Regions from separate parts of the Homo sapiens genome. Here all the other regions are linked to region 2. Evidence: promoter capture Hi-C in human tissues and cell types (Jung and others, 2019). All regions are on one chromosome and are shown on one strand. Each heading gives the region's core, a stretch centred on a gene start or on the middle of the fragment in contact. The rest is flanking DNA. Distances are from core to core; before and after follow the strand shown. Region 1 overlaps LOC105379312 (a long non-coding RNA gene). Region 2 holds the start of INTS10 (integrator complex subunit 10). Region 3 overlaps SH2D4A (SH2 domain containing 4A). Region 4 overlaps CSGALNACT1 (chondroitin sulfate N-acetylgalactosaminyltransferase 1). Region 5 overlaps SH2D4A (SH2 domain containing 4A).

What was found. The method cuts DNA at HindIII sites, captures the fragments that hold promoters and counts their contacts. A contact is called where the count stands out against the background at its distance.
Region 1: a fragment that was not itself captured here is called in contact with the fragment with the promoter of INTS10 in region 2 in 1 of the 25 tissues and cell types used here (H1 embryonic stem cells).
Region 3: a fragment that was not itself captured here is called in contact with the fragment with the promoter of INTS10 in region 2 in 1 of the 25 tissues and cell types used here (heart left ventricle).
Region 4: a fragment that was not itself captured here is called in contact with the fragment with the promoter of INTS10 in region 2 in 1 of the 25 tissues and cell types used here (spleen).
Region 5: a contact is called between a fragment that was not itself captured here and the fragment with the promoter of INTS10 in region 2, in 3 of the 25 tissues and cell types used here (dorsolateral prefrontal cortex, hippocampus and mesenchymal stem cells).

What each region holds. Positions count from the first base shown.
Region 1 is chr8:20,129,653-20,135,305 of GRCh38, forward strand. LOC105379312 (a long non-coding RNA gene) reads left to right here. Exons shown (of 3, transcript XR_949563.2): 2 at 1-267; 3 at 3,354-3,666. Among named protein-coding and RNA genes, the nearest start is that of SLC18A1, 51 kb to the right of the region's middle. The HindIII fragment of the contact is 4,316 bases long and covers 1,138-5,453 here.
Region 2 is chr8:19,814,654-19,820,280 of GRCh38, forward strand. It overlaps INTS10 (integrator complex subunit 10), which reads left to right and starts at 2,763. Exons shown (of 17, transcript NM_018142.4): 1 at 2,763-3,013; 2 at 3,622-3,689; 3 at 4,920-5,023. The coding sequence starts at 2,885. RefSeq lists silencers at 2,344-2,483, 3,004-3,133 and enhancers at 2,634-2,713, 2,754-2,813, 3,314-3,403, 3,614-3,703. The HindIII fragment of the contact is 14,804 bases long and covers 1-3,961 here.
Region 3 is chr8:19,368,362-19,373,374 of GRCh38, forward strand. All of the region lies in intron 7 of SH2D4A (SH2 domain containing 4A), which reads left to right. Among named protein-coding and RNA genes, the nearest start is that of SH2D4A, 57 kb to the left of the region's middle. RefSeq lists a silencer at 4,135-4,296. The HindIII fragment of the contact is 6,040 bases long and covers 1-4,378 here.
Region 4 is chr8:19,413,279-19,418,648 of GRCh38, forward strand. All of the region lies in intron 7 of CSGALNACT1 (chondroitin sulfate N-acetylgalactosaminyltransferase 1), which reads right to left. Among named protein-coding and RNA genes, the nearest start is that of SH2D4A, 100 kb to the left of the region's middle. The HindIII fragment of the contact is 4,237 bases long and covers 1-3,375 here.
Region 5 is chr8:19,394,015-19,399,587 of GRCh38, forward strand. It overlaps SH2D4A (SH2 domain containing 4A), which reads left to right. Exons shown (of 10, transcript NM_022071.4): 10 at 536-2,204. The coding sequence ends at 628. Among named protein-coding and RNA genes, the nearest start is that of SH2D4A, 83 kb to the left of the region's middle. The HindIII fragment of the contact is 4,332 bases long and covers 328-4,659 here.

The sequences.
Region 1 (5,653 bases), core at 2,046-4,545, 320 kb after region 2:
CTTCCCAAAGTTCTTGAGAGCCTGGGACATGCCATTTGCGCAGAACTCTAGAGTATGCAACGTGGCTTCACACACATCACTCCATTCGGACCCAGGGCTCTGGTACAGGTGTCATCCAAACCTTCTACTGCACACACGTAGCAAAGCGAGGCCCAGGGGTGATGCCCTCTTGAAGTCACAGAGAGAATAAGTGGAGCAGCAAGAAATCGCAGCTCAGTTTTCTGACCCTGAAGCCTGGGTTCTCTTCTGCATATACCAGATGGCCTGGTGAGCAAGGGTTGGGTATTCCTTGGCAAGGGGTGAGCAGGGCTGGGATCCAGGGTGAGTTGAAGTGGGCTGAGGACTTTCCAGGACTCATAGCTCCAGCCGGAATGTGAACAGGCCACACGCACCGAAATCAGTCTTTAGAGCTCGCTGTGGCCACAAGTGGGTGCTGGGCTGAGGTGGTGGCTTGTGGTTGTGAGTGTTGAAGATCATAGTTCAACGCAGGCCGGGTCCCATACAGGCAGGAGGACCAGGCACTAACTGGCCTGCTCTGCCGTCGATCTGGTACCTGTGTGTCTGCCTGACAGACACAGCTCAGAGGCCACCAGGGCTGAGCCGTGGCCCCAGGGCCACCCTCTGTGAGGCTGTCAGGAAGACAGAAAGAGCCACAGGGCAGCTACAGGGACAATGAGTGGCTTGCTGGTGAGGGACAGTAGGAGGCTGAAACCAAGGGAATGGACAAGAGCTTACAACCCCAAAAACTGATGGTGCCTTGTAGCAGACAGACACTGAGAACCCATGGCTGGGGCTCTGAAAGGGGAGGAAGCCTGCCAGGATTACCACTGGGTCCCACATGGGCCTCCCTGCTCCCCATTCATCCTGTGTGACAGCCATGCCAGTCTTTCAGGCCTTTTTTCCTTTTGTTTTGATGCCTTAGGAGACAGTTCATAGACCCTGGCCCAAAAGCTATCTGCTTCTAGAATCCAGCCCATCCCACCCTCCCAGCCTTGCTGCCTCCTCCTGCACCAGCTCCTCAGTCACTGCCCCAATTCGTGGCCTTTGATTACTGCGGCCCCTCGCTCTGAATGACTCCACCTGTCATCTAGTCATTTGATTCCCTCCCAACCTTGAGGACCCACTTTCTGGGACCCCAGTTGTCTATAAAGACCTCCCTGCCCCCTCACTCTGATCATCACTCTCTGTAATCCCTCTAGGGTTTGCCTGTCCCCACCATATACTGTGCGTCTCCTGCACTGCCTGCCTAGGTCCTCCCAGCCTCTGGAGGATGGGCTGGCCGTGCCTTGTCTACGCCTCCCATCTAAACTGGGCTTAATAGCTTGGCTGTAAATATCTATGGTCCATTTGATTGATGGATTCGAGCTACAACTATAGTAGCCTTTGTAGGAGAAAGAAGCATCACAGGCAGAGCCTAAGACCCACAGCAGACACTGATGTTCTCTGTTCTATCATCTCAGGCTCCATTTGAATTCTACACCAGGATAAGCAGAAAACCAGCAAAATAGTTGTCTTGCCACTCACTCCATGGGTACAGTGACCTGCAGACTAGCATTCATAACTGGCATATTGTCTGGTTTTTACAATTACGAGCACACACTTCCCCTCCTCTGATCCTTGCAGCAACCCTGGGGAAGGAAGGGTAAATATAGTTCCCAAGTCTTACTACCCTCCGTGAAATAAGATTCAGAGAGGAGAAGACGTCTTCCTAGAGCCTCCTAGGGCAGGCAAAATCCAAACTAGGTCTTTGATTTTGAAGCAAGACCTCCATCCAGTATGACATGGTTATTTTAGAAAATGAACATGCCAGAACTAATTATTTTTCAGGTGTTTAATACCCACGACGTGTGCCCAGTGCTCTTAATGCCTAATCTCTGACCCTCACGTCTTTCAATGGTCTTCCATGCCCAACATTAAACCTCATTTCAGGTCTGATCAACGATGAAAAGTTAGGTTGTGTAATGGAATGAAAGTGATGTTAAGGAATTGAATCAAGTGTAGGATAACATTTCACATAGGATTTACAGGACGTAATTGTATTTCATCAACAGAGCTACTCAAGTCATTCATTTGAACACAGAATTTTCTCTTTTTCGTTTTTTTTTTTTTTTTTTTTTTTTTTTTTGAGATGGAGTCTCGCTCTGTCGCCCAGGCTGGAGTGCAGTGGCGCGATCTCAGCTCACTGTAAGCTCCGCCTCCTGGGTTCACGCCATTCTCCTGCCTCAGCCTCCCGAGTAGCTGGGACTACAGGCGCCCGCCACCACACCCAGCTAATTTTTTGTATTTTTTTTTAGCACAGACGGGGTTTCACCGTGTTAGCCAGGATAGTCTCCATCTCCTGACCTCGTGATCTGCCCACCTCGGCCTCCCAAAGTGCTGAGATTACAGGCATGAGCCGCCGCGCCCGGCCCCGAATTTTTTCTTTAATTCAGTCCTATGCCAAGGAAAGCCCTGCTGGTTTCTGACTCTCAAAGAATGTAGAAGGCACGTTCTCCCCTTCTCTGCAGCCTTGCAGTGATGCTATTTGCAATTCTTCTTTTGTTTCTGAAGAGTCAGACAGAGGCCCAAGTCTGGTGCCATCAGGAAACTAAAGCTTTATCTGAAGTGGTGGAAACTTCCCAGGGATCTCCGCAGCCCAAACTCTGTCTCTCTTTCACTACTGAGCACTGATCTGAGGAGTCCCATGAAAAAATATCCATATTCAAAAGTCTTAGAAAACAGGAAGTGAACAGACTTGCCAGTCACAGGTAAGTAAAACATTCCACTGGTCCACCTAAGGAACTCTGGCTGATTCCAGCTTGGTGTTTCTCTCCAAGGCCCTAATAAAAGGTAAAAGCAGGATTTGCAGAATCCTAGAATAGTTGGGCTGGTAAAGACCAACTCCCTGTTTCATAGATGAAGACACTAAACCCATATTAGGGAAATGACAGCTAGCGAGTACTCTCAGTGGGATTCCCTCTCCAAGTTCCAATCAACCAAGATTTTCCAGCTCACATATTGTGGAAAGTTCTGAGGAGGGCAAGAGACGTATGTGGCACAGAAGTACCCTTGAGCCCACAGTCTGGCCTTGGGAGATACCATTCCTACACCCTGAATAGTAAGAATGACACTGGCAGTGGCTATGGCTGTCTGGGTAAGTGACTCTGGCGTGTTTTTTTGGTTTTTGTTTTAGGAGGCAGGGTCTCACTCTATTGGCCAGGTTGGAGTGCAATACTACCATCATAGTTCACTGTAGCCTCTAACTCCTGGGCTTGAGTGATCATCTTGCCTCAGCCTCCTGAGTAGCTAGAAGAAGCACATCATACCACACAGTAAGTGCTTATTATTATTTTTAATTTTTTTTTTCTTTACAGAATCCCATATAGATCTGATTAGTATCAGCCACATGGTAGGCAATGCTTGTTGCACTGAAGTCAGCCATTAGAATGTCGTCACTTTGAGGTAAGTCATTGACACATCCAGTAAGCTACTTTTTAGGATTATTCTTAGGGAAAAAAAACAGAGCCTGAAGAAAACAGAATTTTCACCCACTTATTATGAGAGCTAGGAGAAGTTCAGAGGCAAGACAGAGTGAAAGGAAACTACCTTTGTCTCAGGAAGCCTGGAGTTGGAAAGGAAGACAAGGATGTGGACAAGGGAAAAGCAGGGAAGGGAGAAGGGAATACAGCAAATAAACTGTATGAGTTCCTTTCCACACTGCTGTAAAGACATACCAAAGACTGGGCGATTTATAAAGAGAAGAGGTTTAATTGACTCAGAGTTCTGCATGGCTGGGAAGGCCTCAGGAAACTTACAGTTATGGCATAAGACGAAGGGGAAGCAAGGATCCTCTTCACACAGCGGCAGGAGAGAGAAAAGGGAGCGAAGGAGGAACTTGCCAAACACTTTTATAAAACCATCAGGTCTCATGAGAACTCCTTCAAATCACGAGAACAGCATGGGGGAAACTGCCCTCATGATCCAATCACCTCCCACCAGGTTCCTCCCTCAAAACTTGGGAATTCCAATTCAAGATAAAATTTGGATGGGGACACAGAGCCTAACTATATCATAAACTTTACTTAAAATGTGTAAGCCAAAGCCAGTGTGTGTAAGGCCCTATTACTTTGTTTAATAGAAAGTAAAGTACATCAAGTCTCAAGTCTCAGAATTTGGTCCAGGCCGATCCAATCTACTAGTTCGGTGTCTGAGCAATTTAGTGTGGGCTCTACCGCCCTCTTCTGGAAATACTGGGAATTGGTCTTTACTTGTGGTTTTTCAAGTCAGTCACAAATACTAGAAATCAGAGGCCAATTTCATTTTGAGAGTTGAGACAGAATTTGGTAGGTGGCTCAGGAGGAAGGAGAATCAAGGTGGAAGAAGGTGAAGGTAACATAGCACATTTCTTAAAATATGCAGAAAAGTTTCTACAGCCCAATCAAACATTAGTAATAAAATTCACTGTTGCAAAAAAAAAAAAAAAAAAAAAAAAAAAGCCTTGTGTTAAATTTTGTTCATGAGCAAAAGGTGTTAAAAGATTGATTTGTTAAGGAAAGGCCTCAGACTGTGGAGTCAGACCCACCTGAGTCAAATCTGGGCTCTGCTGCTTGTTGTGTAAGTGTAAGTGACTAAGTGACCTCAAGCTGATTATTTAACCTCGCGGGCTGTTCTCATCTGTAAAATGGGGACCACAATGCCCACCCCAGGGGGATGAAGTGAAACGATGCATTTAAGAGGACCAACATGTCACAGACTCCCCTTCAAGAAATTCAGGTAGAGAAAATTATACAATCCTAATGAGAAAAATGAGGAGAGACCCGAGTAAGGGGAGAAGCATTTATTAAGGTCAGGAATAGGCAAAAGTAATTGATGGGGAGAGAAGTCAGAACAGAGGTTCCCTCTGGAGGTGGTAAGTATTGACAGAGAAGGGATGGAAGGAGGCTTCTGGAGTGCTGAGAGTGCTCTATATTTTGTTCTGAGTGGTAGTTACCCAAACACATAAATTTATCAAGCACACACTTAAAATTTATGCACTTTACATACACAACCTTTAAAAAGAGGGGAGAGGAGGAAGAAGAAGGAGGAGGAGGAAAAGGAGAAGCAGAAAAAAAAAGAAAAAGACTTTTTTTTTTTTGAGATGCTGGAGGTAGTGACACAATCTTGGCTCACTGCAACCTCTGCCCCCTGAGTTCAAGCGATTATCCTGCCTCAGTCTCCTGAGTAGCTGGGACTACAGGCATGCACCACCATGCCCAGCTAATTTTTGTATTTTTAGTGGAGACGGGGTTTCACCATGTTGGCCAGGTCTATCTCCAACTCCTGACCTCAGGTGATCCACCTGCCTCAGCCTCCCAAAGTGCTGGGATTACAGACATGAGCCATCATGCCTGGCCCAAGAAAAAGACTGAAAACAGTGGTGAAGTGGGGGAGATCCTATAACTTGAGTCAGAATAGTTATCTCAGCTTTCTAAAGACGGCCACATCTCTTCTACCTGCTCATTCCACAACCTGTATTGGTTCTGAAAATTATGGGAGGAGACATGAACATGCTGATTATGAAGAATTTCTGCCGCCACAGCTGTGAGCAGATAGAGTGAAGGCGAACTAATCTGTGATTCAACCCAGGTGAAGGCAAAGCCTGTGAGCAGTGAGTGGGTGGATGTGATTTCCAAAA
Region 2 (5,627 bases), core at 1,513-4,012:
CAAGACTCTGTCTCAAAAAAAAAAAAAAAAATAGTGGATACAGTGGCAGGATAAGAAGGCAAAGACATGAACATATTGAATGTCTGAGCACAGGGTTTAGCATGAGTGGGAGAGGAATAAGCCCAAAGGGTGGCAGATGCACTTAGGGGAAAATGTAGGTGTCAAGGGGATAGAGGCCCATGAAGGTAAAATCAGGGAGAAGGGAAAGGAGGAAATTATTAAAAAGAACCAAGGAGAGAGTTGAGGGCAGGGAAGTTAAGAGGTTATGTGAGGAAACTTGGAGTTTGAAGATTTTGAAGTGGAAGGGGAAAAGCAATGTAGAGTTTAATTCAGATCACTGAACTGAGCTCACGGAAATTGAAGCCGGGTGCTGGATGCAGGGCATTTTATGTGACTTAGAAGTTGTCAAGGGCCGGCGTGGTGGTTCACACCTGTAATCCCAGCACTTTGGAAGGCCGAGGTGGGTGGATCACGAGGTCAGCAGTTCAAGACCAGCGTGATCAACATGGTGAAACCCCGTCTCTACTGAAAATACAAAAAAAAAATTAGCTGGGCATGGTGGCTGGCGCCTGTAATCTCAGCGACTTGGGATGCTGAGGCAGTAGAATCACTCGAAACCGGAAGGCAGAGGTTGCAGTGAGCTGAGATTGTGCCACTGCACTCTAGCCTGGACAATAAGAGCAAAACTCGTCTTTAAAAAAAAAAAAAAAAAAGTTGTCATGGAGAAGAACATGAGCTAGGCGCCTCAAGTCTCCAGTGAGTCAAGATCATGGCAAGGAGGCCAAAAGATGTAAACTCACTTGGTGTGTTACCTCCCTTCTGTACTTTGAGATGCCAGCATAACACTGTAGGAGAAATGTTTAGCTGGGGACCATTCAAAATCAAGAAGCTGACTAGAAAATAACCACAAACCTTACGTTGTATTCTGGCAAAAAGTCTAGAGGCCCTCTCAAGGTTGGCATCTAAAATACATACAGAGGCTGGGCGCAATGGCTCATGCCTGTAATCCGAGCACTTTGGGAGGCTGAAGCAGGAGGATCACTTGAGCCCAGGAGTTCAAGAACTGCCTGAGCAACATAGGGAGACTGTGTCTCTACAAAAAAATTTAAAATTAGCCAGATGTGGTGGCACACACCTGTAGTCCCAGCTACTCCACAGGCTGAGACAGGAGGATGGCTTGAGCCTGGGAGGTCAAGGCTGCAGTGATCCATGATCGAGCTGCTGCACTCACTGGCAGTCTGGATTTCAGAGCAAGACTGTGTCTCAAAAACAAACAAACAAACAAAAACAGAATTTCCTTATTTAGCCTCTAAATTTAAAATCTTAATTTACAATTGTTATTCCACAGAACACTAGGCTCAGGAACAAGTGTGGAGTTGTTTTTTTATTTTTGGTAAAGACCAAAACCAGAAAGTTTAATGACCAAATCAGTCATTTTTACCATTTGAAAATTCTTACACTTCATATATTAACATCAATGAAATAATTTTAACAATTCAAGCTAGCAATCTGCTTTTATGCTGTACACTTTATAACATAAAAATTATCCTACTCCGTTTAAATCCAATTTTCTACCATCTTCTATTCTACAAACCCAAAATAACTGTATCACTGAGTAATCCTGGCCCATAAAGTAATCATACAGTTATGCTGTTCTGTGCATAAGTAGGAGATATTAAACAGTGCTTCGAAGCCCAGCACGGTGGCTCATGCCTGTAATTTCAGCACTTTTGGGAGGCGAAGGAGGGCGGATCACCTGGGGTCGGGAGTTCCAGACCAGCCTGGCCAACATGGTGAAACCCCGTCTCTACTAAAAATACAAAAATTGGCCGGGCTAGCGCGTCGTGGTGGACGCCTGTAATCCCAGCCACTCGAGAGGCTGAGGCAAGAGAATCTCTTAGATGGAGAATCTCCTAGATGTTTTTCATCTCTTAGATGGAAAACAAATCTGGAGTTTTGGTGAAAAGGACATTGATTGTGGCTGGAGGAGATAATTATAATAATAGCGTAGTTATCTTTCTGTGGGTTTCACGTCCAGAACATTTAAAACATATAAAACCCTTGCTGGGTCAGGGTTTTAGTCATCTTTGCAGCTCCCACGGACGGCATCCACCAAAGCGCTTTCCAAGTACTTCGTTGCTCAATAAACGTTTGTTGGAGAAACCGGTGCATAAAGGTGAAATAATAAAACGTGGACGGATTTCGGAAAGAGAAGGAACCCCGGAGCTCACGCTTTGCACGATCACCCCCACCAGCCCCAGGAGTTTTCGCGTAAATCGAAGCCCGGGGAGTGAGTCGCAGGCAGCGGCCCCCGGGGAAGGTGTTTCAGGCCGGCCCGGGTGGAGAGTGCTTCCCGCCGCCTCCCCGACCCTCTGCTGTTCCTCTCAAACTTCTTCTCAACCTTCCACGCCGGGGGGACGCCCAGGGACCGCCCATTCCCCGGGACCGCCCGTCTCCCCGCCCCCGCCTCCGCCCCCGCCCCCGACAAACTGAGCAATACCCAGAGAGGATGGAAATGGCGAAGAGGCCTGGCGCCTGCCCGCTCCCGCGCATGCTCCCTGACTTCACCAAGGTCACGCTGCAGCCCGCAGGAATGAAAATCCACTTCTCCGCATTTTCGAGGTGACCTGGAAGCGGTTCAACTGCTCTGGCTTCTCAGAAGAGGAGGGGACCGGGCGGTAACGAGGAGCCAAGGGGAGGAGACTGCTCGCAAAACCCGGAAAAGCTTTCCCGATCCACTCTGCCAGCCTCCGTGCGCCTCCAGACATGCGCAGTAGCCTCCCCCGCGGTGGCGGCGGCGGCGGCGGTGGCTGCCGTGGCGGCTGAGAGTCCAGAGCCGGACGTTCCGGCCGCTTCGGGCTGGCGGCTGGAGAGCGCTCGGGTCATGTCTGCCCAGGGGGACTGCGAGTTCCTGGTGCAGCGAGCCCGGGAGTTGGTGCCGCAAGACCTGTGGGCAGCCAAGGCGTGGCTGATCACGGCCCGCAGCCTCTACCCGGCAGACTTTAACATCCAGGTGAGGTCCCGGCTGTGCATGCGGCCGCTCTGCGTGGAGGTGCGCGCTCCCGTCGCCCGGGCTGCCCTGGCCCAGAGCTGCGCCTGCCTGGGGGCTGCCGCCTCCTGCCCGGCCCCCTGCTTTCTCCCCTCCCACCCCCTCCTCTCTCCCCTCCCATCCTACACCTTGCTCCTACACCTTTCACCCGCCTTGCTCCTACACCTTCCAGGAGCCCTCTCCCCAGCACTTGAGAGACGGCCGATCCCGCTTGAGGTCGGGTGTGCTTAGGTCCCTGGGGCTCAGCGTGCCATCTGGCCTAGACAGCACATGATCGCCACTAGCAAAAGGCCATTCGCTCCTTCATTCATCATAATGGCAGCAGTTTGTTCAGGGCCTGCGACTTTGGAAATATTATCCTACTTAATCCTGGGAGCCTGAGATTGCAGGTGAACCCCAGGGTCACACTCTAAGCCCAATGGCAAGTCTGCCATGTATGTGGCGCTGTGTCACCAGGCGGAGCTTCACTCTCAGGCCCTCCCTTCCTGCAGGAGGGCCAACGAGCGATGCTGGATGAGCTGGGAGCCTTCTGGGCAGGGGTGAGTGACCAGGGTGCCTGATGTGTGTTGCAGTATGAGATGTACACCATCGAGCGGAATGCAGAGCGGACCGCCACCGCCGGGAGGCTGCTGTACGACATGTGAGTGGGACGCTTGACATCACTTTTACTGCACTGAATCTCTCCATGAGGTTTTGTTTCTCTCTGCAGAAGTGGGAGTTGGGGGAAGATCTTCAAGTTCATCTATATCTTCGATACCTAAAGCAAACCTAGTAAGGAGTCCAGGCCTGCCATAAATTGCTGACATGGCTTTTGCAGAAGAGTTTAATTATTATTCTTATGTTTTATCCTTGTTAAAACTTCTGTTTCATAATTTATTCTAGAAATAATATGTGCTCATTACAAAAATTCAAACACTACTTGTTATAGAGAACAAAAAGTGAAAGTGCATCCTAAACTGAACCAGAGTTAAGTTTTGTAGGCAGTATATCTATACATGTATGCATAATACATAAATAAGGTTTTGGGGGGAAGGGGTTACAAAAGTGAGAAGACCATACTACCTTTGCCCTGCAGCATGTTTCCTTTACTCACTCTCATGGACCCCTTCCCATATCAGTATGTAGAGATCCACTTCATTCCTTTTCATGCCTGTGTAGTATTTCGTAGACACTCTCTTCTTGGTAGACATTTAAATAGATAGTTTTAAATTATTTGAAATTATATTCAGTGTGTCAACAATTTTGTAGTCATATTTTGGTGTTTTTCTGTGGAATAGATTCTAAGACATTTTCATAGTCAAAGTTTATGCGCATTTGAAAATTTGATACGCTATGAAATTACTCTCCAAAATGTGCGATCCCAGTCTACATTACCACCAATGGTGTATAAAGAGTGTGTTTTCCCATACCCTTCCCAACACTGGATATTATTAGTCTCTTTTTAGTTCTTGTCACTGTGATAGGAGAAAATGGTATCTTGCTATTTTAAAAAAAAATTTGTACTACTCATACTGTTAATAAGATTCAGTATTGTTTCAACTGTTCTCTTTGGCTGTGTGTATTCTGTGATTTGCCTTTGCCTATTTTTTCTTTCAAATAGTTTGTTTTATTCTTGTTGACTTTTAGAAGCTCTTTCTATGTTATGGTTACTTGTCTTTTCACCTATAAAACCCACTAAAGACTTATGTGAGTACTCTCATTTTTATAAATCAAGTAATTCTTATTTTTACATTTTTATTTTGGTTTGTTTTGGCACGTCTAAGCATTCACTTGGAATAAAGGAAACTTTTTCACCAAATGCTAACGTTTTTTCTTTTGGATACTGTATAGACTTTGACATTTTAATTTAATGTATTTATTTTAAAAATAGGTTTGTGAATTTCCCAGACCAGCCGGTGGTGTGGAGAGAAATCAGCATTATTACATCAGCATTAAGGAACGATTCACAGGACAAACAAACCCAATTTTTAAGAAGTAAGAATAATGGTGTATAAGTTACCATTTCGGGAATACCAAATCATATATAGTAATTTCACACACAAAAAAGTCACACCTGGGGTATTGGTAACCATATGTATGTTTTATTCTTGGCAACCAAAGTCTATAATAATGTCACTCGGTTCCTTGACTTGCTTAGAACCCTTTAAGCTTCTTTAAAGGATATGGATTTATCAGTGAGACGAGGAATTAATTGTATATATTTTTAACAGGTTTTACAATAACCAGATAGCAGCTATAGATTAACCAGCTCTCCACAAAACAGGAGAGAAGCTTTTAGTAATTTAGAAGCTTTCTCTTTAAACTTCTGTATGTTGCTGTAGTCAATCAAAGATTTCAAACTCTAGATAAAATAGCAAGTAGATGCATAGGTCATTTGAACTTCAACAAGCACATGCTCTCTATCTCAACCTGCAACAGGCATTCTTGTGACCATTCACATACATCATTGTTTTTTGAATTTGATCAGTCTTGCAAATATTTTACCATTATTCAGCAAACATCCTGTGCCAGATACTATTGGCTCCAAAAGGCTGCCAGGTTGTAGGTGAAACTTAACTGCATTGATTTCACATGTAGT
Region 3 (5,013 bases), core at 109-2,608, 450 kb before region 2:
AGAAATTTTGAAAGTTTTTTCTTTTTCTGTGAAAGATATCATTGGTATTTTGATAGGAATTACATTGAATCAGATCTTTTTGGGTAGTACAGCCATTTTGACTATTAATTTTTCTAATCCATGGACATGGGATGTCTATTTTTTTGTTGCCTTTCATTAGTGTTTTATAGTTTTTCTTGTAAAGACATTTCACCTCCTTGGTTAAATTTATTCCTAGTTATTTTATTTTATTTTATTTTGCTATTGTAAATAAAATTGCTTTTTTTTTTTTTTGTTAGTCCATTGTTGATGCATAGAGATGCTACTGATTTTTGTAAGTTTATTTCATATACTACAATTTCCCTGAATTTTATCAGGACTAAGAGTTTTTTGGTGCAGCTTCTAGGGTTTTCTGTATGTAAGATCAGGTCATCTGCAAACAGACAATTTGAGTTCCTCTTTTCCAATTTGGATGTGCTTCATTGCTTTCTCTTGACTCATTCCTGTGCCTAGGACTTTCAGTACTATGTTGAATAAAAGTGATGAAAGTGGACATTCTTGTTTTGTTCCAAGTTTTAAAGGAAAAACTTTCCATTTTTCCTCTTTCAGCATGTAAACTGTGATTTTGTCATATATGACCTGTATTGGGTTGAGGTACATTCCTTCTGTACTTAATGTGTTTAAAGGTTTTATCATGAAGGGATATTGAATTTTAGTAAATGCTTTACCTGTGTCTGTTGAGATGATCTTGTGGTCTTTGTCTTTTATTCTGTTAATGTGATGTGTCATGTTCATTGATTCGTTTATGTTGAACCATCCTTGCGTCCCTGAGATGAATTTCCTTTGAACATGGTGAAGGATGTTTTTGATGTGCTGTTGGATTTGGTTTGCTAGTATTTTGTTGTGGATTTTTGTATCTATGTTCATCATCATCAGGAATATTGGCCTCTAGATTTCTTTTTTTGTTGTGTCTTTGTCTGGTTTTGATATCAAGGTAATGCTGACTTCATAGAATGAGTTAGGAAGAATTCCTCCAACTTCAGTTTTTTGCAGTAGTTTGAGAAGAATTGGTATTAGTATTTCTTTAAATGATTGATAGGATTTGGTAGTGAATCCATCAGGTCCTGGGCTTTTTTTGATAGGACACTTTATTAATGATTCAGTCTCGTTAGTCATTATTGGTCTGTTAAGTTTTCTGTTTTTTCATGAGTGAATTTTGGTAGGTTGTATGTGTCCAGGAATTTATTGATTTACTTCCAAGTTTTCCATTTTGTTGACATACAGTTGTTGATAATAGTCTCTAGTGATCTTTTTATTTCTGTGGTATCAGTTGTGATGTCTCCTTTTTCATCTCTGATTTTATTTATTTGAGTCATCTCTTTTTCTTTGTGTAGCTAAACTTATGTGAGTTTTGTTATTAAAACCACTCTTCATTTCATTCATATTTTGCACAGTTCTGTAGTCTCTATTTTATCTATTTATGCTCTGATCTTTGTTATATTTCCTTCAACTAATGTTGCATCAAGTTCTTGTTTTTCTAGTTCTTGTGGTACAACAATAAAATTACTTATTTGATATCTTTCTACTTTTTTGATATGTGTGTTTATTGGAATAAACATCACTCTTAGAACTGCTTTTGCTGTATCCCATAGGATTTGGTATGTTGTTTTCATTTTCATTCGTCTCAAGAACATTTTTGGTTTCTGAAATTTATTTATTGACCCATTGGTTGTTCAGGTGCATGTTTAATTTCCACATATTTGTTTCTAGTTTTCCTCCTATTACTGATTTCTTGATAAGTTTTAACTTAAAACAATTTAAGAATTGTTTTGTGGCCTAACATATTCCTAGAGAGTATTCTATTTGCTGTTGAGATACTGTGTATTCTGCAGCTGGTTGATTAGAATAGTCTATAATTGTCTGTTAGGTACATTCTAGAGTGTGGTTTAATTGTTGATTTTCTGTCGGTATGATCTGTTCATTGTAGAAAGTGGGGTGTTGAAGTCCTCTACTATTGTTGTATTGCAGTCTTTCTATGTAGGTATATTAATATTTGCTTTCTAAATTTAGGTGCTTCCATGTTAATTGAGTACATATATATTTATAACTGTTCTTGCTGTATTGAACTCTTTATTATTGTATACTGGCCTTCTTTGTCTCTTCTTACAGTTTTCAGCTTCAGGTCTGCTTTATATGATATAAATATAGCTACTCCTGTTGTCTTTTGGTTTCCATTTGCATACAATGTTTTTTCCCCATTCTTTCCCTTCCAGACTATGCATGTCCTTACAGGTGAAGTTAGCCCCTTGCAGGCAATGTATAATTTGGTATTGTTTCATTTTTATTTAGCCACTCTATGCCTTTTAATTGGAGAATTTATCCATTGATATGCAAGGTAATTATTGATATGTAAGGGCTTACTATGGCAATTTTCCTTCTTATTTTCTAGTTATTCTGTAGATCCTTTCTTCTCTTATAGTCTTTGTGGTTAGGCACTTTTCTCTAGTAGTACATTTTGGTTCCTTTTTATCTTTGGTGTATCTGTTATAGATTTTTGCTTTGTGGTTACCATGAGACTTACAAAAACATCCTATAGTTATAACAAGTTATTTTAGAGACTTACAAACTTTGTGAAGGAAAGAAACAAAAAAACTGTACACTTTACCTCCATTCTCTCCTTGCATTTTGTATTTTTGAGTGATGACTTACATTTTTATATTACCTATCTTGTTATTAAAGTTATTTTTGATAGTTCATTTTTTAGTCTTCATATTAAGTTCGTTTTTAGTCTTCATATCTTTATATTAAAGATATAAGTGGTTTACACATCATGATGATAGTATTATAACAAAAATCATGTTAGCATCCAGTTTATGTTTGAAGAACTATTTTTTAGCATTTCTTATAGGCCAAGTCTGGTAGTGGTAAATTCCCTCAGCTTTTGTTTGTGTGGAAAAATCTTTCTCTTTCCTTTTCTGAAGGAATACTTTGCTGTGTGCAGTATTCTGGGTTGCATTTTTTTTTTCCTTCAGTCTCAGCATGTATCATCTCACTTCTTTCTGGCCTATACGGTTTCTTCTGAGAAGTCTGCTGCTGGGTGTATTGGATCTGTCTTACATGTTATTTGCTGCTTTTCTTTAGCTGCTTTTAGGATCCTCTATTTGTCTCTGCACTCTGAGGGTTTGATTATAATATGTCTTGGGGTATTCCTATGTAGGTTGAATCTGACTGGTGACCTTCGATCATCCTATGCTTGGCTATTAATTTTTTTCCAGGTTTGGAAAGTTTTCTGTTATTATTTCTTTGCATAAGCATTTAACCCCTTTGTCTTCCTGAATTCCCTCTTTAATAACTCCAATATTTACTCTTTTGATGTTGTCCCACAGACCCCATAAGCTTTCTTCATGTCATTGTTTTCTTTTTTATCTCTGTGTATTTTCAAATAGCCTGTCTTCTGGCTCACTAATAAGTGTACTGTTGAAACCCTCTATTGCATTTTTCATTTTATTCATTGCATTTTTCGGCTCCAGGATTTGATTTTTTAAAATTACTTCAGTCTTTCTGCTACATTTCCCTGATAAATTTTTGAATTGACTCTGTTCTTTCTTGAAGTTTGTTGAGCTTTCTTAAAACAGCTATTTTGAATTGTTTCAGAGATCACACATCTCTATGACTTTAGGCTTGACCTGTGGTATCTTATTTTGTACACTTGGTGAGGTCATATTGTCCTGAGTCTTCTTGATGCTTGTGTATGTGTGACAATATCTGCACATTTAAGGATTAGGCTTTTATTCCACTCTCCACAGCCTGGCTTTATTTGTGCCTGTCTTTCAGAGGCCCTTCCAGAAATTCTAAAGCAACTTAGAATTCTTAAATTGTTTCCTGAGCCTGTGACCACTGCAGCCATCTCAGCACTAGAGGGCGCTCCAAGTCCAGGCTTGCTGCAGCTCTCCCAAGGGCTCTATGATTTACACAGCTCTCCCTCCCTGATGGACCTGAGGAAGAACTCAAGGAGGGTACAGGGGCTGTGTGGGAAAGCTGGTCAGGGACTCCAGTACAGAAGACTGTTTTAATGACCCAGACAAGTGTGTCTCCTAGTGCATCCCTGCAGGGAATGGATACTTCCTTGGCTTTAGTGGTGGGAGGGGATGGAGCTGATATTGGACCCCATCAGCATCTGTTTTTGGAGAGTGGCTGGAGAGCACATCTCATTGGCTCAGATAGACGCTTGTCTCCCAGCAGGTGCCTCTACAGACAGGATAGTTCACTGACTGCAGTGGTGTTGTTGTGTTTAAATTGAATTCTGCTCAAAATTAGTACGCTGTTGAGTAGGACTTGGAAGTCTGTTTATTACATTGCAAGGTTACTCTTTGTAGTAGAAATTGACTTACATCCTAGAACTTAGGTTCTGCTACTGAATCTATTTCAAAATGATTCTGCTGCCTGTATCTTTGTCTTTTCAAACTTCAAATACTCTTCTTCCTTTTACTTTGTATTTCTTTACTTTTTTTTTTTTTTAGCAGAACTAAATGTCATCAAAGTGTGGAAGAGGATAAAGCAAGTCAGGGAGGTTAGTGGAAAGAGAAGAGAAAATCAAATAATGCAAACATTAGGAAAGAAATCTATCTTATTGCATTTGATTTCTATTGTTTGCAAATACCTGCTTTCCAGGAAAATGTGCTGGGGTAAAAGTGTATTTTGCCTTTTAATGCTTATTTTCTCAGATGTTAATTGGAAGTTAATGGAGCTTATAATTCCTATACAAATGAACTTAAATCTGTGTGTTAACACAGCAGTGGCTCATTTCTATAACTAGCCCTTTAAGACTGGAAGCACAAGTGACAGATTTATATTCCTTCCTCTTCTGCCCTTGAGGAGGTGTATAATGGTAGTGTGTCAGGGCTCCAGCCTCCTGTTAGCTGAGGTCATTGAATTAGATCTGGAAATGTGTATAATTCCCTCTCCCTCCCATTCTCTCTCTCCCCCCACCCCCACACACACATGTGTATATATATATATATGTATATATATTTG
Region 4 (5,370 bases), core at 7-2,506, 400 kb before region 2:
AGGATGTATCCCCTGTTGCCCAGCATCCTCAGCCCAGGTGCGGTCACATAGTGTGGCACTCGAGTTCTCACCCCTGCCACTTAGCCGCTACAGGCATCTGGCCCTCAATTCCTCATCTGTGAAATGAGAATAATAGCACCTCTTCCCCTTATTGAGTATTACGTGAGATAACGTGGGCACCGGACTGGCTTCTGGAAAGGCTCCATAAAGGGCCTCTGTTCACATTAATTTTGGTATTCAGCGGGTGTATGTTTCCTGAATAAATAGAAACAGAATGCAAGGATGCATAGGATGTGCCATGCTCATTTGGCAATTTACAAAAAGGTTTCAACTGAACTGCAATAGTAAAATACTTTCTGAAGGGAGGTAGAGAGGTCAAGGGTGTGACCAGAGAGAGGGCAAGGACAGAAGCCAGCATGCTATGCACACACTGAACAGTATCACAAAGTCATCAGATTTAACTGACGGGTAAGACCACATGGCAGACTAAGATGTGCATGTCGGATGCCGTGGGCATTAGAAATGATAAGGAGGTGGCCTTGAGGAGCAGAGACAGCCAGGGAGACTGAGCAGGTGTGCTCACCTGGCAACAAGGCTGGCTTGGGTGACTATGGAGCTGGTACCATGTGCCAGGTTCTGGGGTTTACAGATATTTTCTCTGCATCCATTTGAGAGTTGGTCTGTGGAAGACAATGAATCCCAACAAGGGCTCAGGGCTTGCAGTGCTGTGCTGGAGCCAGCTTGCACCAGCTCACAAGGATTGGACAAATCTCTTCCCAACCTTGTGTTCAGTGACGTCATGCTGGTAGCCTGAAATAGGCCACGGTGGGAGTATTTACACCATGGAAATTGGCAAATGCTATAAATCAGGTCTTTCTCCTGCACCCCCTCTTCAGAGAGCAGGTTGTTAAATATTTACCAGCACATCTCTGGCTCTGTGCCCAAAGATTGCTTAAAAAACTGAATGAATCTGTGATTTAGAAACCTATCTCTGGCAGAGGGTGAACAAAAAACCGGAGTCTAGGGGAGGGAAGGAGGCTTAAGATAGAAGTGGTAGGAGGCTCCTGCAGTGACCTAAACAGGAACTGGCAAAGCTTGAACCAGGAATGTGAAACGTCTAAAGTTAATGTTTGTTTAAATTATAGTCATTCCTTTCTCAGCGAACTGTTTCTACACATGAAAGCACCAGCAAGTTTTATCTCATGGTTTAAACTAAAAAAATTTAAATGTTAGTATAAAATCCCATAGTTTCACTTAATATGAATTACTGCTGGTCTATACATACAAGGAAAAAACAGTAGTCAAAACACACACATACACACACACACACACACACACTATCATAAATGTGGTTTCTTGCTTTTGTCTGCAGGCAAAACACTATCAAATGACAGTGGCAACAGTCACAAGAAGGAATAACATACATTGACTAATGTGATCCTATTTCAAAGGCTGCTAGTAAAGATTGTCTTTTGTTTGCAAAACTAACTTTCATTAGAGCAGCATTCTGGATCTCTGTTCTCCCTTCACCTTTGATACTGATGTATTCCAAGAAGGCTATCAAGGATGTAGTAATTAATATATAGGTACCATCTCTTTCAAGACTGAGTCAGAACGTACCCTTAGTAGGAAGTCATTACTAACTGATCCATCTCCAACCATTACTTTTAATTTTACATCTTCTCCCCACCTAAATAATCCATCTCCATTCTATTACTTTCTATAGTTTCAAGTTCTCCTTTGGAATTTTTGTCAAGACTTTTCCTTCATACGTCAGTTCTCATCTAGATCCTAAGCAAATCTCTTGCCTCTGTACTGATAGAAGGAAATCTCTTGCCCTGAGCTCTGCCACTAGCTAGCTGTACAATCCTGAACAAGCCAGTTCACCTCTATAAAAAGAAGAAAGTGAGGAAACACTCTCACAAATTACTACCAAGTAATGAAAGCGTTTCATTTCTTCTGACTTCTCCTCTCGCACCTAGGCCAGTCCCCCGTAGGCAGCGAGCACTCAAGAACTGGTTTGTCCAGTAAAAAACATAAGCATACTCTTCTTTTGGGAAGGGGGAGTCCTTCATCTCAAGGAGAAGAATTGCTGTTTCACCAAACTAAATAGTCATAAATACTGAACTCTAAAATATCAGACTTCTGTGGTCTAGGAAAGGTCAAAATTGCATTTGGAAGTAAATGTCAGAGGCTGCAGGATAATTCACAGCCTGTGGCAACAATGGACACAGGGAATCTGAGTGGTTTCTGCTTTCACCACTAATTCTGAGGATGTGAGAAACTTGCCTAACTGCACTGTGCCTCTGATTCCCTTCGCAACTCCTACCCTGCAGGAATAATAATACAAAGAAAAATCTTTTGGATTGTAAAACGAAAACAATTCCTTGCAAGCAAATAAGGTCTTTATGAATTTGAAATGGAAATGTTAATCACATTCTATGTCAAATGCAAAACAACACATTACTTAAACCCAAAGGAACTTTAACTTTGATTGGCAGAAAGAAAATAAATCCTATATCCTGTTTCCCTTTCAATCCAATTAGAAGCTTAGAACTCTGGGAAAGGAAGCGAGAAGTTTCTCTGTCAATGAGGGTGATACGTGCTGCTTAACGACACAACTGTAAGCATAAGCAATTGTAACACAATGGTATTTGTGTATCTGAACATAGAAAAGGTACAGGAAAAATCTGATGTAAAAGATTTAAAAACATTTTCTTGTAAGTGTAACTCATGTGCTGCCTAACAACATTTCCGTCAACAACAGGCTGCATATGAGATGGTGATCACCCAGGAAGGCAAGGTTAACTTATTATTAAAGAAATGAAAACTTTTTTTTTTTTTTTTTTTTTCTGAGACAGAGTCTTGCTCTGTTGCCCAGGCTGGAGTGCAGTGGCACGATCTCGGCTCACTGCAACCTCTGCCTCCCGGGTTTAAGTGATTCTCCTGCCTCAGCCTGTGGAGTAGTTGGGATTACAGGCGCATACCACCATGCCCAGCTAATTTTTGAATTTTTAGTAGAGATGGGGTTTCATCATGTTAGCCAGGCTGGTCTCGAACTCCTGACCTCATGATTCACCTGCTTCGGCCTCCCAAAGTGCTGGGATTACAGGTGTGGGCCACCACACCCGGCCAAGGAAAACTTTTAAAAAATAAGTTTAGTGTCACCTAAGTCTACAGTGGTTATAAAGTCCACAGTAGTGGACAGTAATGTCACAGGCCTTCACATTCACTCACCATCCACTCATTTACTCACCCAGAGCAAATTCTAGTCCTGTATTACAAGCTCCACTCATGGGAACCATTTTTAAAATCTTTTATACCATATTTTTCCTGTGCCATTTCTATGTTTAGATACTGAATACCATCGTGCTTCAATTGCCTGTAGTATTCAGGACAGTCACATGCTGTACAGGTTTGTAACCTAGGAGCAACAGCCTGTACCATACAGCCTACGTGTGTAGTTGGCTATGTTATGTAGGATTGCATAAGTGCGCTGTATGATGTTTGCACAATGATGAAATTGCCTGACGATACATGACATCTCTCTATTGTTAAGTAACACATGACTATAGATGAAAACTCACTTTTTTTTTTTCTTTGAGACAGGGTCTCACTCCATCACCCAGGATGGAGTGCAGTGGTGCGATCTCAGCTCACTACAGCCTCTGCCTCCCAGGCTCAAGCGATTTTCAACCTGCCTAGTAGCTGGGACTGTAGGTGTGTGCCACTATGCACGCCTAATTTTTTATTTTTTAGTAGAGATGGGTTTTGACACATTGGCTAGGCTGGTCTCAAACTCCTGGCCTCAAGTGATCTGCCCATCTCGGCCTCCCAAAGTGCTGGCATTAAAGACATGAGCCACCAAACCCAGCTGAAAACTGATTCTTAAGACGTGAAAAACTCTTACTGTTTTTATGTATAAAGCACAGATACAGATACACTACAAAAACAGATACACAGTATATCTGTGGTATTGCAATTCCACTAGGGGAAAAGAGAACTGTATTATTAGTAAACCTGGTGCACCCCAAAATGAAGCCATGCTAGGATATAAGACATGACATTGTCCAACCTGAGGGCCCCAAAGTTGAAACTTTCTGGAAAATATCATAATATCAGTTGCCAGAGGTTAACTTGGGGAGAGAGGATGAAAGGCACAGGATGGGGCTGGAAACAACAGGTTTTGCTATTTCTAGAAGCTTACACACAAAGTCAATCCTCAAACGCATCCAGAACATGGGTTTTGGATGGAAATCAGTTTACTCTCCCATTGTACGGAAGCATCAGAGGCCTGGTGCTATCGTGTCTTCAGGTTCCCACAGCAGATGTCCTTCCTCCACCCTAAGGGGTCCTCAGTGGGAAGAAGCATGGATTTTCTTTAGCAAGAGGCAGAGCTACCCACAGCAAAGAAGAACAGACGTCCCTCAGATGGGAAGGCCACCATGAGATACAGCCTGGGCCAGAACACAGCTTCAGACAAACCTGGCTCATCTCCCCGCAGGAAAAAATCACAGCCCAACTTGAGGTGGGAGAAGGGCCTTTTCCCTCTCTGCCAATGCTGTCAACAATACCGGGAAATTCCATCCATGGGGGCCATGCCCAGAAGACACAGAGATCCTCTTCTGGCTTGCCTTTCCTCCTGCTGCTTGCATTGCTTCTCTGCAAAGTGGACTAACTGCCTGTGACAACAGAGACATCTCACCCTACAGGGACCCTTGGGGGCTGTGTGCATCCACTATCCATCACCTGTGCAGCCAGGATCTTAGCAGAGAAGTCCTTCCAATATTCCTTTGAGAGCCACCTTGCCAGTGACACCTTTAATGCTAACGTCTACCCAAACACTGTGATGTGTGGGAACAGTGGCATGATGGGAAGGGAACGGTGGCATGACGGGAAGGGCACTGGGAGCACACTGGGAGTTTCCACTTCAAATTCACAAAGACCTTATTTGCCTGCAAGGTCCAGGGAATTGCTCTGGCCCTCTCTGGGGTGAGCCACCCCATTCTGATTTCTGTCAAATGGGAACATAAATCTCACCTTTGTTACCTTGTAGGATTTTGCAAAAATCAAGAGAAACTGTACTGCATCCATAATGCAACAATACCAGTTTCCAAAAACCAGTGATGGAAACTATGAAGGTGTGAAATTACCTCTCTGTAAAGTACTGCTTCCATTTATTTTCCACTTTAAATATTGCAAGCACTTTTAATCAACGAGGCGCCGGGAGCAGAGGCCAGCACATCTGCCAAACGTAAAAACTACTAAGGGAATCATTGCACAGATTTCTACTCACCTTTGCTCATGGTCAGGTACCCCTGGTAATGACAGACACTAAACAGAGCCACACAGAGCCATCTGCAGGGTAAT
Region 5 (5,573 bases), core at 1,244-3,743, 420 kb before region 2:
TTGTTTTCCTGCAACTAGACAGTCCCATCTGGAGGTGATGGGGGACTGTGACAGATCATCAGGCATTAGATTTTCCTAAGGAGCGCACAACTGAGATCCCTCCCATGCACAGTTCACAATAAGGTTTGTGTTCCTATGAAAATCTAATGCTGCTACTGATCTGACAGGAGGCAGAGCTCAGGCGATAATGTGAATGACAGGGAGCAGATGTAAATACAGATGAAGCTTCACTCCACTGCTCACCTCCTGCTATACAGCCCAGTTCTAACAGGCCACAGACTGGTACTGGTCCATGGCCCTGGGGTTGGGGACCCCTGACCTATGAGAATTCATAGGCCTTAAGTTAGAATTCAAGCCCTGAAGGGAAAGGAGTACCTGGTCACATGTAGATAAGAAAAATGCCTTTTAAGATGATCATAAACCACAAAAGCTTTGTGTAAATCATGGGTAGGCAGCTAGTGATGTCCTCTGAGGAAGTAGGAAGAGCATGTGGTCACTACTTACACTATCTGACCCCGTGCCTTCTGATTGACAGGAGGAACCCATCACTTCCCTGGGGAAGGAGCTCCTTCTCTATCCCTGTGGTCAGCAGGACCAGCTGCCTGACTACCTGGAGCTGTTTGAGTGACAGCCTCCATCAGGGTCATCCTACAGCCTCCAAGCGGGCTTTCCCCTGGACAAATGCCACTGCAACATTTATGTGTGAAGCCAAAATCACCCTGCAGCAGAGCCAATACTGATCAACTGAAAGTAAAGTATCCATGGAGTCCTCATTGACACCTCTTTTCTGCACAAATACTGGAATTCAATGTCAAGAGAAAATGACCTCTGCTCAAAAGGGAGAAGAGTCTCAATTTCAGCAAGTACCTGTCATGAAGGGTATGACCTTAATGATGTACATAAAATAAAACAAATGAAGAAATGGAAAACTTTTAGAAATTAAGGTGTACTTGAAAACGAATATCTATCATATGACCCCTGCACTCCCTCTGTATCATCTCAGGAGGTTTCAGGGGCCTGTTGACATGAAGTTTCGAAGTTTCATGTTGGCTTTGGAATGGTAGCAAAAGCCTTTCCTGGCTGAGATGATGCTTAAAACACACCTCACTTATTGTACATGTTGGAACCAGGACATGAGAGACATAGAAAAACAGAAGTCATGAATGTAAATTGAATGAGAGGCTTAACATGCATGAAAATACAGATGGACCTGCAGGAAAGTGAGCAAACATCGCTGAGTTTGTTTTCTTGTTCGGGAGAATGGGGCCGGGGCTGGCCTGGCCTCCCCTGGATATACTCTATAGTGCACCAAAAGGATAAAGCATCTGTACATGTATTTTTTTATTTTTTATCAGAAGTGCTTAGACAAGAACAGAATAAGCAGGCTGTTTGGATGCTACTTGTGGTTGAATTGTGTTCCCCCAAAATATATGGTGAAGTCTTAACCCCCATCCCCGTGAATGGGACCTTGTTTGGAAATAGGGTCTTTGCAGATATAGTCAAGATGAGGTCACATTGGATTAGGGTGGGCCCCAAATCCAATGACTGGCATCCTTAGGAGAAGAGAGAGTTTTGGTAATAGACACAAATGCAGTGGGAAGAAGACCAGGGGACAAGAGGCAAGTTGGAGTGATGCAGCCGGAAGGGAAGGGACACCAAGGATCTCCGGCCACCAGCAGAAGCCAGCAGAGAGGCATGGGACAGGTTCCCCACAAGCCTTAGAAGGAAGCATGGCCCTGACTTCAGAATTCCAGACTCCAGAACTGGAAGAATAAATGTCTGTTGTTTTAAGCTGCTTAGTTCATGCTGAGTTCATGCTGACTTGTTACTATAGCCCCAGAAAGCTAATACAGTCGTTTATGTAATTACATAACCTGACACACAAGATCGACCCATTCACTGCTGCCCAGTCCACCATTTTCATAATGAAGTAGAAATGGGAGGTAAGAAAAACATTCCAGCCAGTTCTGTTTAGCCCTGGCACACATATTTGTCCCGTCAGGAATCTTATGCCCTCCTGGAACCCCCGCCCACCTCAGTCCAGTCCCAGTCAGGCGAACGGCCTCTGGACAGGGACTGAGGTGGCTCTGAGCCACTGGAGATCATTTTTCTTGGAGGATGGAGATTGGCTAGTACCTCTGGCCTAACTGTGTAGGTCAATACTCTTTTACATTGCCTTCTAATAAAAGCAGAATGATACAGCAGTGTTGTTACAAGCTTGTTGGTTGCGTACAGCACTCATTGACTATAAAATGTAGCCAGAGAAGGGGATGGTTGGCATGTGTGTTCTAATGAGAAAGATGATGGTGATTATTATTTTTAGAGACAGAGTCTTGTTCTGACACCCTGGCTGGCATGCAGTAGTGCGATCACAGCTCACTTCAGCCTCAAGCGATCCTCCTGCCTCAAACCCCCAAAGTGCTAGGATTATAGATGTGAGATACTATGCCAGGTAGAGATAGCTTTTAAACATAGATCATTGTTTAACTCTTTCTTGAAATGTTCCATGTGGTTTATATTGTTAAACTATTGTAAGGATCCATCTCTTGGCTTTTGTTCCTATGATTCAACAGTCATGGCATTATTGAGAAACTTCTCAACTCTTCCTACCATTTTCTGTATAATCTTGGACAGGACAGTTTGTCTCTGAGCCTCAGTTTTTGCTTCTGAACAAAAAAAAATATGATTCAACTGGGTGATCTTTGTTATTTTCATCCAATTCTGAAATTTTAAGGTTCTAGTGCTTCTCACTGGAATGAATGGAAAGTACCCACTTGTCACCACTAATAATTAGGAAGATGTAAGATTCCAGTACTGGCCAGGTGCAGTTGCTCATGCCTGCAATCCCATCAATTTGGGAGGCCAAAGTGGGTGGATCATGAGTTCAGGAGTTCAAGACCAGCCTGGCCAACATGGTGAAACCCCGTCTCTACTCAAAATACAAAAATTAGCCGGGGACGGTGGCATGCACCTGTAATCTCAGCTACTCTGGAGGCTGAAGCAGGAGAATTGCTTGAACCTGGGAGGCGAAAGTTGCAGTGAGCCGAGATCACACCACTGTACTCCAGTCTGGCTACAAAGCAAGACTACGTGCTGGGGGAAAAAAAAATCCAATACCCCCCTGTGCCTACAGTTATCTTGTAGGAAATAATTGTGGCCATATCCAGATATAACTACACAAAGCAACATCCTATTAAAGGAAGATTTAGAAAACAGGAAGTCACCCAACTGAATTCACCCAATATTACACAGGGGAGCAGATGTGGGTTCCGGACTAGTTTATCCTGTTGGTTGCTGATTGATAGAGGAATACACTGTCCAGTGTTGGATGATATGATGGCACGAATGACACTTGAAATTCTTAGGGAAGGAGAATGGTTTACAGATTTCAGAAACTGAATTCAACCGAATGGAATTCAGGAGGCCTGAATGGTCATCCGAGCAGTGCTGTGGTCTCTGTCCTGCCTACATTTACCCTGAGTTACGGTCTGAGGTGAAGATGTCCAAACTCTGACCCTGGTCTCCTCCTCCTGTTGCCTCTGCAAGCCCAGCTCCTTGACCTGCCTGCGCAAGGTTTCTGGGTCTAGGAATGCTGCTTTCATGTTACTGTCCTGGTTCTCAAGCCTAGGGGCTCTGGTCTGCAGACCCTGACTCACTGGGACTGTGGCCAAATACTCCTGCCCATCTAGATTCTTCTCTCCCACAATTCTGGAATCTCCCGCCCACAGTCATGTAAGATTTTCTGGCTGCCACCGTATTGCCAGATGCTCACAGACCTATCAGGTCACTTGCAAGGACCCTGCTTCTGGCCTCCTGCCCTACCCTGCTGCAGTAGGATGCACAAGGAAGGTCGCTTGGCCCTGAGTGTCACCAGCAGTGCTAGTCAGTCTGAAAAAGTGTTTTCTGGCTGGGCACGGTGGCTCATGCCTGTAATCCCAGCATTTTGGGAGGCCAAGGCAAGTGGATCACGAGGTCAGGAGATCGGGACCATCCTGGCCAACATGGTGAAACCCCGTCTCTACTAAAAAAAAAAAAAAAAAAAAAATACAAAAATTAGCTGGGCTTGGTGGCACATGCCTTGTAATTCCAGCTACTCAGGAGGCTGAGGCAGGAGATAGCTTGGGAGTCAGAGGTTGCAGTGAGTCGGAGGTTGCAGTGAGCCGGAGGTTGCAGTGAGCCGAGACCACTGCACTCCAGCCTGGTGACAGAGCAAAAGTCCGTCTAAAAAAAAAAAAGGTGCTTTCTGGCCCAAAGCTTACCCTAAAAATGGAGAAAACACAGGGCAAGTTAGGAAAAAAAGGATCAGAGAAAGAAAAAAGTAGATGGGCAATGGTCAGTCAGGTCACCAAAAATACCTCCGGGACATTTCCACCCAAAATTGCCTATCTGAGCTAATGCTTTGGAATTAAGCATCCTTTGCTAATATGACATGAAATCTGCTTTTAGATTAAAAAAAGAAAAATTCATGGCTTAAAGTTTTGCAACTGCCACCTTTTGTAAAGGCAGTTTTCTTAATGCACTGGAGTTCTAACATGTTTATGGCCCACACATACATATTTTGGGGCTCCTGCTATTTGGTGAGAGAAGACACAAATGCATGGGCTATGCATGGATATGTTTCCATGGGGCCTCTTTGCTTTCATATTTATCCAGAACGTGGTACATGCTTTCCTTTCAGGCTGCAATTCACAGGGTTTGTTTTGTTTTGTTTTAGAACATACGTTTTCAACGACTGTATCTTTAAATAATCTGTTTGAATTTAGCTTTTCTCTTCCTTGGGAATAGCTATAAATGTTGGATTTTTCTTTGCTTTTCATTTGGTATTCTCACCCCCATTGTTTTCATCTCTCCCTTCTTTTCTGTTGTATTTTGGGAGAGCTCTTGCATCTGTCCTTTTCCCATCAGTGATTAAATTTTCAGCAATGTTAATTCTGCACTTCACTGCCTCCAGGTGGATTTTAGTACCACTTTTACATGTCTAGCTACTTCCCATCCTACCTTCTCTCCCTATGCAAAGATCTTTAGGCTTCCCACTGCTTCCCCAGACTGACAATTGTCAGGAAGCTTAAATGATAAAAGTACCCTGTTTTAATTGTGGTAAAAACACATTATTTGATAATCAGGCTGCTCAGTATAGTAGAGAGCAGGCCCAGCAGGTTTGGGGTGCGGTCCTGGGTATACCATAACTAGCTGTGTGGAGTCGTTAAAGAAAAACAGTAACTAAGCCTGTCTGAGCTTCAATTTCATTTCTCAGACAGTCGTTACTAAAGTCACCTGGGTTCTGACGATTAGGAAAGAAATATGTTAAATATCTGGCATAGAGTAAGCGCTCCATGGGCCCAGCATGGTGGCTTATACCTGAAATCCCTGCTCCTTGGGAAGCTGACACAGGAAGACCATTTGAGCCCAGGATTTTGAGACCCGCCTGGCCCACATAGTGAGAACCCACATCTCTACAAAACATACAAAAATTAGCCAGGTGTGGTTGGCATGTGCCTGTAGTCCCAGCTACTCAGGAAGCTGAAGCCACAGGATCACGTGAGCCCAAGAGTTCGAGGCTACAGTGAGCTATG